3 separate regions of the Homo sapiens genome follow, and regions 2 and 3 are each linked to region 1. Evidence: promoter capture Hi-C in human tissues and cell types (Jung and others, 2019). All regions are on one chromosome and are shown on one strand. The core of a region is centred on a gene start or on the middle of the fragment in contact, and the rest is flanking DNA. Distances in the headings are between cores, read along the strand shown.

Region 1 (2,916 bases), core at 231-2,730:
AATTCTCAGGGAGGTTACAAACGTTCTCACGATGGCAGCACTATGAGAGTAAGTGCCCAGCCCCCCAGAGGGACTCTCGGGGCAATGCTCAGGACATAGTGGACTCAGTGGACACTTACTGAGTTACTAATGAATGTTTGGCTGTGTGGGATCTATGCTCTATTAAAAATAATAAAAACAACAGCAAAAGTTGCACTAACTATGTAACATATAAAGTTGTACTACCATTGTCTGGAAGGATAGAGTCAGAATCTTGCAAACTTAAGGACAATTACGGCCCCTCATGTCATAGATGTCACCAGCAGAAGGGCCTCTCTGAGGTGATATAATTCAGGAGTTGCAAATGCAAATGCCTTCAATGCCAGAAAGTGTAATGATTGAAAGAATCAGGCCAAGTGTGATGCAATAGGGATGGGTGGGGTGTGTGGCCCACTAGCGTGGGCATGTTTTGCCTATATGTGTTCATGATCATCATTACTAACCCTTGAGTGATATCCACTGTAGCTCCAGGTACTGTTCTAAGTGCTATCCATCTATGAACTCGTTTATTCCTCACAATGGCAGCATGAGGTAGAGACTGCTGTTATCCTCGCCTTACAGATGAGAAGTTTAAGGCAGAGAAGTGAAGTAACCAGCTAGTCATTGCTGGAGCCAGGAACTGAACCCAGCTCCTGAGTCTGGGCTCACAACCAGTACATTGCCCCAGCTAAAGGCTTTGAATTTTCAAAATTTCTGGAAACCCCATGAAGCCAAAACAAATCACATCTGCAGACCAGTTTTAGCCCTTAGGCTGTGAGTTTGCAACCCTAGATATTCCACCACCCTCATTTATCAGGAATCTGCAGCCTCCAAAAGATGGGAAACTTGCTGGTTAATGATAGAAGCTGGGAGAGAACACAGGATCGATCCCCTCCCACCGAGCAGGTTTGCCCACACAGCGCCCTGCCGCCCTGCCACCCTGCCATCCTGCCAGTCCCTGGGGGCAGAAATGGGCACAGGTGGGAGCAAAGCCAGCTTACCCTTGCCCAGTCCTGAGATGGCATCGGTGATCACCACCACTTTGTTCTGCACAGCTGACTTTGACCACAGCCTGGACACCTCTTGGTAAATGAAGAGGAGGCCGCTGATTCCCAGCAGCAGCAGGGGGAGCATCAGCATGGCCATGACTCCCATCTTGTTCTGGGGGACAACGGAGTAAAAGGGGATTGGCTTTGCAAAGAGACGCTGATCAGGACTCCCAGGGCAGGGGGAGGCCCAAGGCTGCAGGGAGCTCAGCTCTGTGCAAGCCTCCAAGCTGAACACCCAGTGGGCGTGCTAATCCCCAAATGTTCAACAAATAGGAAGTTACTCACAGTGTCTCCGAAAGCAGACCGAATCCAGGGGGCCTGCCCTCCCCAGTGGTTAATTACAAACTTAATTAAAATGGGTCTGCATTTTTGGAAGAAAATCCATGTGTTAAGGCCACTTGCTTGGGCCCTAATGGTTATTTATAGCTTTCAGTTGCACTAAAAGGCTGTCAGGGTAAATATAGTGTCTATTCTGATATTCAGGAACACATGCTGGCCGGGTCTGATTTCAGGGCTCTTGCCAAAGCTCTCCTGGCTTGCCTGAGTATTAGAGGTTTCCTCTGCAGTTTGGGACTGAGCACGAGGGATCCAAACCTGGGATTTTCAGCACAAACATCCTTGCCCTCACTTCCGGTAACCCTCGTAATCAGGTAGCTTCCAGGTAGTTTGGATGCATGTGGCAGAAGACCATCTGGCCTTTGCTTTCTAATTGGAGATGAAAAGCATAGAAAACTGCTAAACAGAATGAAGCCTTTTGCAGAAAGAGCCACTGGGAGGTGTGACAGGAAATATCAGAAAGAGCACACTCTTGAGAGTGTTTCTCACCTCTCTGAGCCTTAGCTTCCCTGTCTGTAAAATGGGCAGGACCAATGGGAGGACAAACCATACTGCACAGTGTGGGCCTAGCATAGATCCCGGGCCGTAGGAAGGTAACTACTGTTATCTTTAGCGGTTGAGGATACTAAGAATTTATCCCAAATGTGAAATATTTTCATTACATAAGGAAACTCAGTAGGATTAGAACTGGAGAGACAGAAACCCAGTTCAAGTACTGGAGCCATCCCAAACCAGAAGGCCAATCACAATCAGGTCCTAATTTGTGCGGTAAACAGCATTGAGCCAATCAGGAGTAGGACTAAGAGCAGTGTGTGTGCATGTGTGTGTGTGCGCGCATGTGTGTGTGTGCATGTGTGTGTGCGTGTGTGCGTGCGTGTGTGTGTGCGCACCTGTGTGTGTGCACGTGTGTGTGTGTGTGTGTGTGCGTATGTGGGGGGGGTAAAGAAGACTGTATTTCTTTCTTGGAAATTAGAAATAACCAGGAAGATTAAAAAAGTCCCAGAATTTTATTGACACTTAATGTACATATTAGAAACACACACGTAAATGTAGAGCTTGATGAATCTTCATAGACTGAATATATTCACGTGACCAGCATGCAGATCAAGAAACAGAACATTGCCAACATGCCTCATCATGTCTCTCTCCAGCCCTGAGGGTAGCTACTTCCTAACTTTTAAAAGCGTATATACAGTTTTACCTGTATGTGTATTTTCTTTGCTCAAACAACCTCTTGTGTAAAGTTTTTCTTTTTTTTTTTTTTTTTGAGACAGTCTTGCTCTGTCACTAGGCTGAGGTGCAGTGGCACGATCTCGGCTCACCGCAACCTCCACCTCCTGGGTTCAAGCAATTCCCCTGCCTCAGCCGCGCCGAGTACCTGGGACTACAAGCCCCCACCACCACGCCCGGCTAATTTTTGTATTTTAGTAGAGACGAGGTTTCACCATATTGGCCAGGATGGTCTCAATCTCCTGACCTTGTGATCCGGCCACCTCGGCCTCCCAAAGTGCTG
Region 2 (2,916 bases), core at 225-2,724, 63 kb before region 1:
TGTGACTGTCCTTGCGCCATGTAGGTTGTGTGTTTCAGTTGCGCCAGGTGGATTGTGTGTTTTAGCTGAAGATTTCTTTCTCAATGATTGCAGACATCATGTAAAACAAGGCATTTTAATGGTACAGTGACTGATGACTGAGAATTTCTTTCTTTTTTTTTTTGGAGATGGAGTCTTGCTCTGTCACCCAGGCTGGAGTGCAGTGGCATGATCTCAGCTCACTGCAACCTCCACCTCCACCTCCCGGGTTCAAGTGATTCTCCTGCCTCAGCCTCCTGAGTAGCTGGGATTATAGGCATGTGCCACCACGCCCAGCTAATTTTTGTATTTTAGTAGAGATGGGGTTTCACCATGTTGGTCAGGCTGGTCTCGAACTCCTGACCTTGTGACCCACCTGCCTCAGCCTCCCAAGACTGAGAATTTCTTAAGCAAAAATACACAACCTTGGTTGTACATATGTTCCTTTTAGAAATGTGGAGATATAGGAAAGAATTAAGAAAAAAAATCCATCACAAACAGCACTGCCATGGCCCTATCCACACCTTGTTTTTGGCATCTATTTCTCTATTCTTATTTGTATGTTTTCACATGCATGCATAATACATGCACGTGTATATATTTTTACAAGTTGTATAGGTTGGTGCAAAAGTAATTGTGGTTTTCACCATATTTTTTTAATTCCATTTTTTTTTTCTTTTTTAGCCCAGGGTAGGATATCTGAGATTCTTGCATTTGAAAGGTACAAGGACCTAATATGACCTAGAAAAGCAGGAACTTTTGCTGGGCATTCCGTTTCATAGGAATATTTAAAGATAGATGAAACTGATGTTCATTCTTAAGGCTAGATGCCCGTGAGACTGAGCTTTGCCAGGTGTCTGTGCTGCCCGGCATGTAGATACCTTCTTTGGCACTGGCTTACCCTGTGGCTTCAAACGTGTAAGTGGATATTGAGGAAGAGTGGGTGAAACCGTTGCTGTTCCCCAAAGGCAGGAACCCTATGTGGCTTCTTCACTGCTGTGTCTCCAGTGCCCAGCACAGTGCCTCCCACATCAGAGGTGCTCAGTGAACGTTAGATGACTGGCATTTCAGCTGTAGGGTGGCTTGTACACTGACAGTCTCTCTGTCTCTTTCAGGAGGGTTGGAGCCCAGGCGTTTGGTACGGGGCGTGAAAGGCAGAAGCATTAGCATGAAGGCACCCACCACTTCCCGAGCCAAGCAGGGACCATTCAAGACCATGCCTCTGCGGTGGTCCTTTGGATCCAAGGAGAAACCACCAGGTGCCTCCGTCGAGTTGGTGGAGTACTTGGAATCCAGACGAAGACCTCGGTCCACGAGCCAGTCCATTGTGTCGCTGTTGACGGGCACTGCGGGTGAGGATGAGAAGTCAGCATCGCCGAGGTCCAACGTCGCCCTTCCTGCTAACAGCGAAGATGGTGGGCGGGCCATTGAAAGAGGTCCAGCCGGGGTGCCCTGTCCCTCGGCTCAACCCAACCACTGTCTGGCCCCTGGAAACTCAGATGGTCCAAACACAGCAAGGAAACTCAAGGAAAATGCAGGGCAGGACATCAAGCTTCCCAGAAAGTTTGACCTGCCTCTCACTGTGATGCCTTCAGTGGAGCATGAGAAACCAGCTCGACCGGAGGGCCAGAAGGCCATGAACTGGAAGGAGAGCTTCCAGATGGGAAGCAAAAGCAGCCCACCCTCCCCCTATATGGGATTCTCTGGAAACAGCAAAGACAGTCGCCGAGGCACCTCTGAGCTAGACAGACCCCTGCAGGGGACACTCACCCTTCTGAGGTCCGTGTTTCGGAAGAAGGAGAACAGGAGGAATGAGAGGGCAGAGGTCTCTCCACAGGTGCCCCCCGTCTCCCTGGTGAGTGGCGGGCTGAGCCCTGCCATGGACGGGCAGGCTCCAGGCTCACCTCCTGCCCTCAGGATCCCAGAGGGCCTGGCCAGGGGCCTGGGCAGCCGGCTCGAGAGGGATGTCTGGTCAGCCCCCAGCTCTCTCCGCCTCCCTCGTAAAGCCAGCAGGGCCCCGAGAGGCAGTGCACTGGGCATGTCACAAAGGACTGTTCCAGGGGAGCAGGCTTCTTATGGCACCTTTCAGAGAGTCAAATATCACACTCTTTCTTTAGGTCGAAAGAAAACCTTACCGGAGTCCAGCTTTTGATGGAGCGTGTCAGTATTGTGTGACGCTGGCATTCTTGGGACTTTGCCAAGCAACTGTAGGCAGCTCATGTTGAGAATGGGTTTCCAGGAAACCCGTTGTCTTGTAATCTCTAAAAAAAAATTTTTTTTTTTTTGTGGTGGGGGGTCTCCATATCTAGACTTCCAACACCCAAGGTCCATATAACCCAAGGTCGAAAACCTTCCTGCATCATTGGGTGCTTTGCTACAGTTTGGCCACTAGAGGATGCTATTGGGTCAGTATTACCAGTTTCAGGGCAAGAACTGATATTTACTAAAGAGTTTTGGATGTGGGCAAACAAGATGAGGCTGGTTTAATAAGAATCTTCAATGTCATGTCAAATACTGTCAATGGCTTTTCCTTTTTCTTTCTTTTTTTTTTTTAAATTGTGGACTTAAAGAAAAATATTTTATTTTTAATGCTTTTCTGGGATAAGCATTAAAGATGCCAAAAAGAAAAAAAAAACAAAAGAATGATAGTGATGGTAAGGCAAGATTCTAGCAAAGAGAGATGGGAGATAAATGGCTGAGAGTTCAGGTGAATATTTAATATATTAAAAATTGTATTAAAGTTTTTCAAGGTATTTTAAAAATAACTATTTTGATACTAGAAAAAAAGTCCATTTTTTAATTTAAATATGAGATCTATGTACAATTTTAATAAAATCCTGTCCATGAAACACGCATGGCTGTCTGAATTATTCAAGTCTGATAAATGATCTTGTTTCA
Region 3 (2,916 bases), core at 233-2,732, 38 kb before region 1:
CCTTCAAATATCCCACAAAGTATTCCAACAGGCGGTATCAGCACACACCCATTGTTTTATCATTTTATTATATATTTTGCCAATCCACTATAATTGATTTCTCATAAATTTTATGTGTACACATTAAAGGCATGGATGATATAGCTCCACAGTAACAGAAGTAAAAATGAATTGATAGCATAACTCAACCTTCTCAAGGCCTTACTGACCTGTGGGCAGAAATGCAACATCAATGAAAATCACGCAAATTCCAGCGGCTCTCACAATGCTGAAAATTTCTACAGTGTGCTTCTAAAGTATTTCTGGTGGTCTCTAGGGAGAGGCCTCACAGGTGCCCATGAGCAAGACTGCCCTTGTTGGTGGCTGCCCCCATATACTTCCTCGTGCATGGAAGGGCCTCATCTCTATGCAAATTCTTGCAGGTGCATCATCCCCATCAGTGCTCCTGAACAGGTGTGTGTAGCTGGCATCACTGCTACGGTAGTAAGAACCATTAATGGAATTATGAATCTTGCTTATATATTGTCGCATGCCTTGCCAAACCTCTTCACATTTGATTATGTCAGGAGGTGAATAATTAAGCAGGATAAGGGTTCGGATAAAGGTGAAGGTCATGACGATCTCATTAGACCATCAAAGGGTCCAAATATTAATATGGGAACAGTACAATAAATACAGGACTTTTCATAAAAGTAATAACTATATGGCCGGGCACGGTGGCTCACGCCTGTAATCCTAGCACTTAGGGAGGCTGAGGCGGGTGGATCACGAGGTCAGGAGATCGAGACCATCCTGGCTAACACGGTGAAACCACATCTCTACTAAAAATACCAAAAAATTAGCTGGGCTTGGTGGTGGGCACCTGTAGCCCCTGTTACTCGGGAGGCTGACGCAGGAGAATTGCTTGAACCTTGGAGGCAGAGGTTGCAGTGAGCCAAGATCGTGCAGCTGCACTCCAGCCTGGGTGACACAGCCACACTCTGTCTCAAAAAAAAAAAGTAATAAATATATAATCAAGTATTATTTAAAATGTCAAGTTGATGGGTGCAGCACACCAACATGGCACATGTATGCATATGTAACAAACCTGCACATTGTGAACATGTACCCTAGAACTTAAAGTATAATAAAAAAAATTTAAAAAATAGATAATAAATATACACACGAGTATAATAAAATACAGAACTTTTCCTTCGGTAACACTCAGTAGTGTCTTAACAGATGCCCCTCCTGACTTTAAACATAGAGTTACCTCATTTAGCTAGAAAGATACTTGAAGTTTGAAGAAAAGCGTATTGCACATTTTATTTTAAAAAGTCACTAACATTCTGTTTTAAGTAAGTTTACCTTAGGCGTCCCAGTGTTTGGGGCATGCTTCTGAATGCTCGAATTGGGGGAATATTTTCCTCAAGTGGGTATTTATTTTTACCCTCCTCTGGGCTCATATTTCTTCTTTCAGAGAGCGCACAGGGATGAATTTGTCTGTTTGTTTCTTGTTTTTGGATTGTCCAGTGGAGAGGCAATACAGGTTTGACTCAGGGGACAGGAATGGCCTCACCATTCCTTGGAGGTAAGTGGGTCCCCTGATTGAGGGGAGTTTCTGTCTTGGCCAAGGGGCACCTGGACAAAGTCTTGATTTTCTTCCTGAAGCAACTGGATCTGCTGTCTTTCCCAGCACATCTGCATGTGGAATCCATCCCAGTTCCATATCCCTGCCCTCTCCTCTCAACAACATCTTGAAGGAGTCCTTTCTCTCATAGCTCAGGGGCAGGGGGCATTTTTGCAGACGGAGAGCTAGAGGTAGACAGGCTTGCTGAGGGCTGAATAGGTCTTGCCTTAGGATCCTGAGAGAAAAGGTGTTCCCAGAGCTGCCTCGTTTCCTTGGAAGACCTGTTCTTATGGGTCTTTTCTTTTCATTCTTTAGACTGAAGATTCTTCCTGGGCCCAAGGGAAAGGTAAGTGGAAACATTCTGAACAACACCCATTTTGGCATCCAGGACTCATTCGGCAACAAACAGGTGCTTTTACCCAAAGATATGGATGGGAGGACAAGAGAGGACCTGGGTTCTACCTATCGTCTATCTAACATCTATCTATCTATCTATCTATCTATCTATCTATCATCTATCTATTTATCTATCCATCCACCTATATATCTGTCTATCTGCCTATCCATCCATCCATCCATCCATCCATCCATCCATCCATCCATTAAGGAGTGGGAAAGGATAGAGATGGAAGAATGTTTTGTTTTGTTAACACAAATGCTGTCGAAAATTCTTTAGGGTGAGAGCAACACAATTGCAGAGTTACTGTTAGCATCAAGATGTGAGAATGTATTGTTGGGTTATAAATTTTACATTCTTAAGCATCAGACCAGTTCTAAAGAATCTTTTTATTTCCTCACAAGGTTCTTGCCTTACCTGACATTTTATGACAACAAAACTATGGTGGATGCTTATGTACAAGCTCCACAGTCCTTTGAGTCAGAATTCTGATTCTTAAACACACACACACACACACACACACACACACACACACACACACCTTAATAAAGATAAATGAATTAAAAGAATTAAATATTTGGAGATCATTATAAACAGGAGATGTATGGATGGCAGATAAATAATTCTTAAATCACATGAAACTTGCTTAAGTAACTAATTTACAATGCTGAGAAAGGCTTAGTCATCCACTTTAAAAAATTAAACCTTTCATAAAGAACACCAAATAAAGCAAGGGTTGAATAGCTACTGGACTTCTTAACCAACACCTTCATCCGAGTAGTTTTAGCTGGATGGTCTCTTCTCAGGATGCTCCAAGCCCAGGTCAGTTCTACCCTCTGCATTAGTGTGCTAGGGCTGCCATAGCAAAATGCCACAGACTGGGGTGGCTTAAGCAACAGAAATGAATTTT

What was found. The method cuts DNA at HindIII sites, captures the fragments that hold promoters and counts their contacts. A contact is called where the count stands out against the background at its distance.
Region 2: a fragment that was not itself captured here is called in contact with the fragment with the promoter of DHRS7C in region 1 in 1 of the 25 tissues and cell types used here (mesendoderm cells).
Region 3: a fragment that was not itself captured here is called in contact with the fragment with the promoter of DHRS7C in region 1 in 3 of the 25 tissues and cell types used here (liver, pancreas and spleen).

The regions. Positions count from the first base shown.
Region 1 is chr17:9,790,112-9,793,027 of GRCh38, forward strand. It overlaps DHRS7C (dehydrogenase/reductase 7C), which reads right to left and starts at 1,481. Exons shown (of 6, transcript NM_001105571.3): 1 at 1,020-1,481. The coding sequence starts at 1,173. The HindIII fragment of the contact is 22,922 bases long and covers 1-2,916 here.
Region 2 is chr17:9,726,821-9,729,736 of GRCh38, forward strand. USP43 (ubiquitin specific peptidase 43) reads left to right here. Exons shown (of 15, transcript NM_153210.5): 15 at 1,134-2,867. The coding sequence ends at 2,170. Among named protein-coding and RNA genes, the nearest start is that of DHRS7C, 63 kb to the right of the region's middle. RefSeq lists enhancers at 805-1,305, 1,306-1,806. The HindIII fragment of the contact is 3,953 bases long and covers 1-2,916 here.
Region 3 is chr17:9,752,170-9,755,085 of GRCh38, forward strand. No RefSeq gene overlaps it. Among named protein-coding and RNA genes, the nearest start is that of DHRS7C, 38 kb to the right of the region's middle. The HindIII fragment of the contact is 7,521 bases long and covers 1-2,916 here.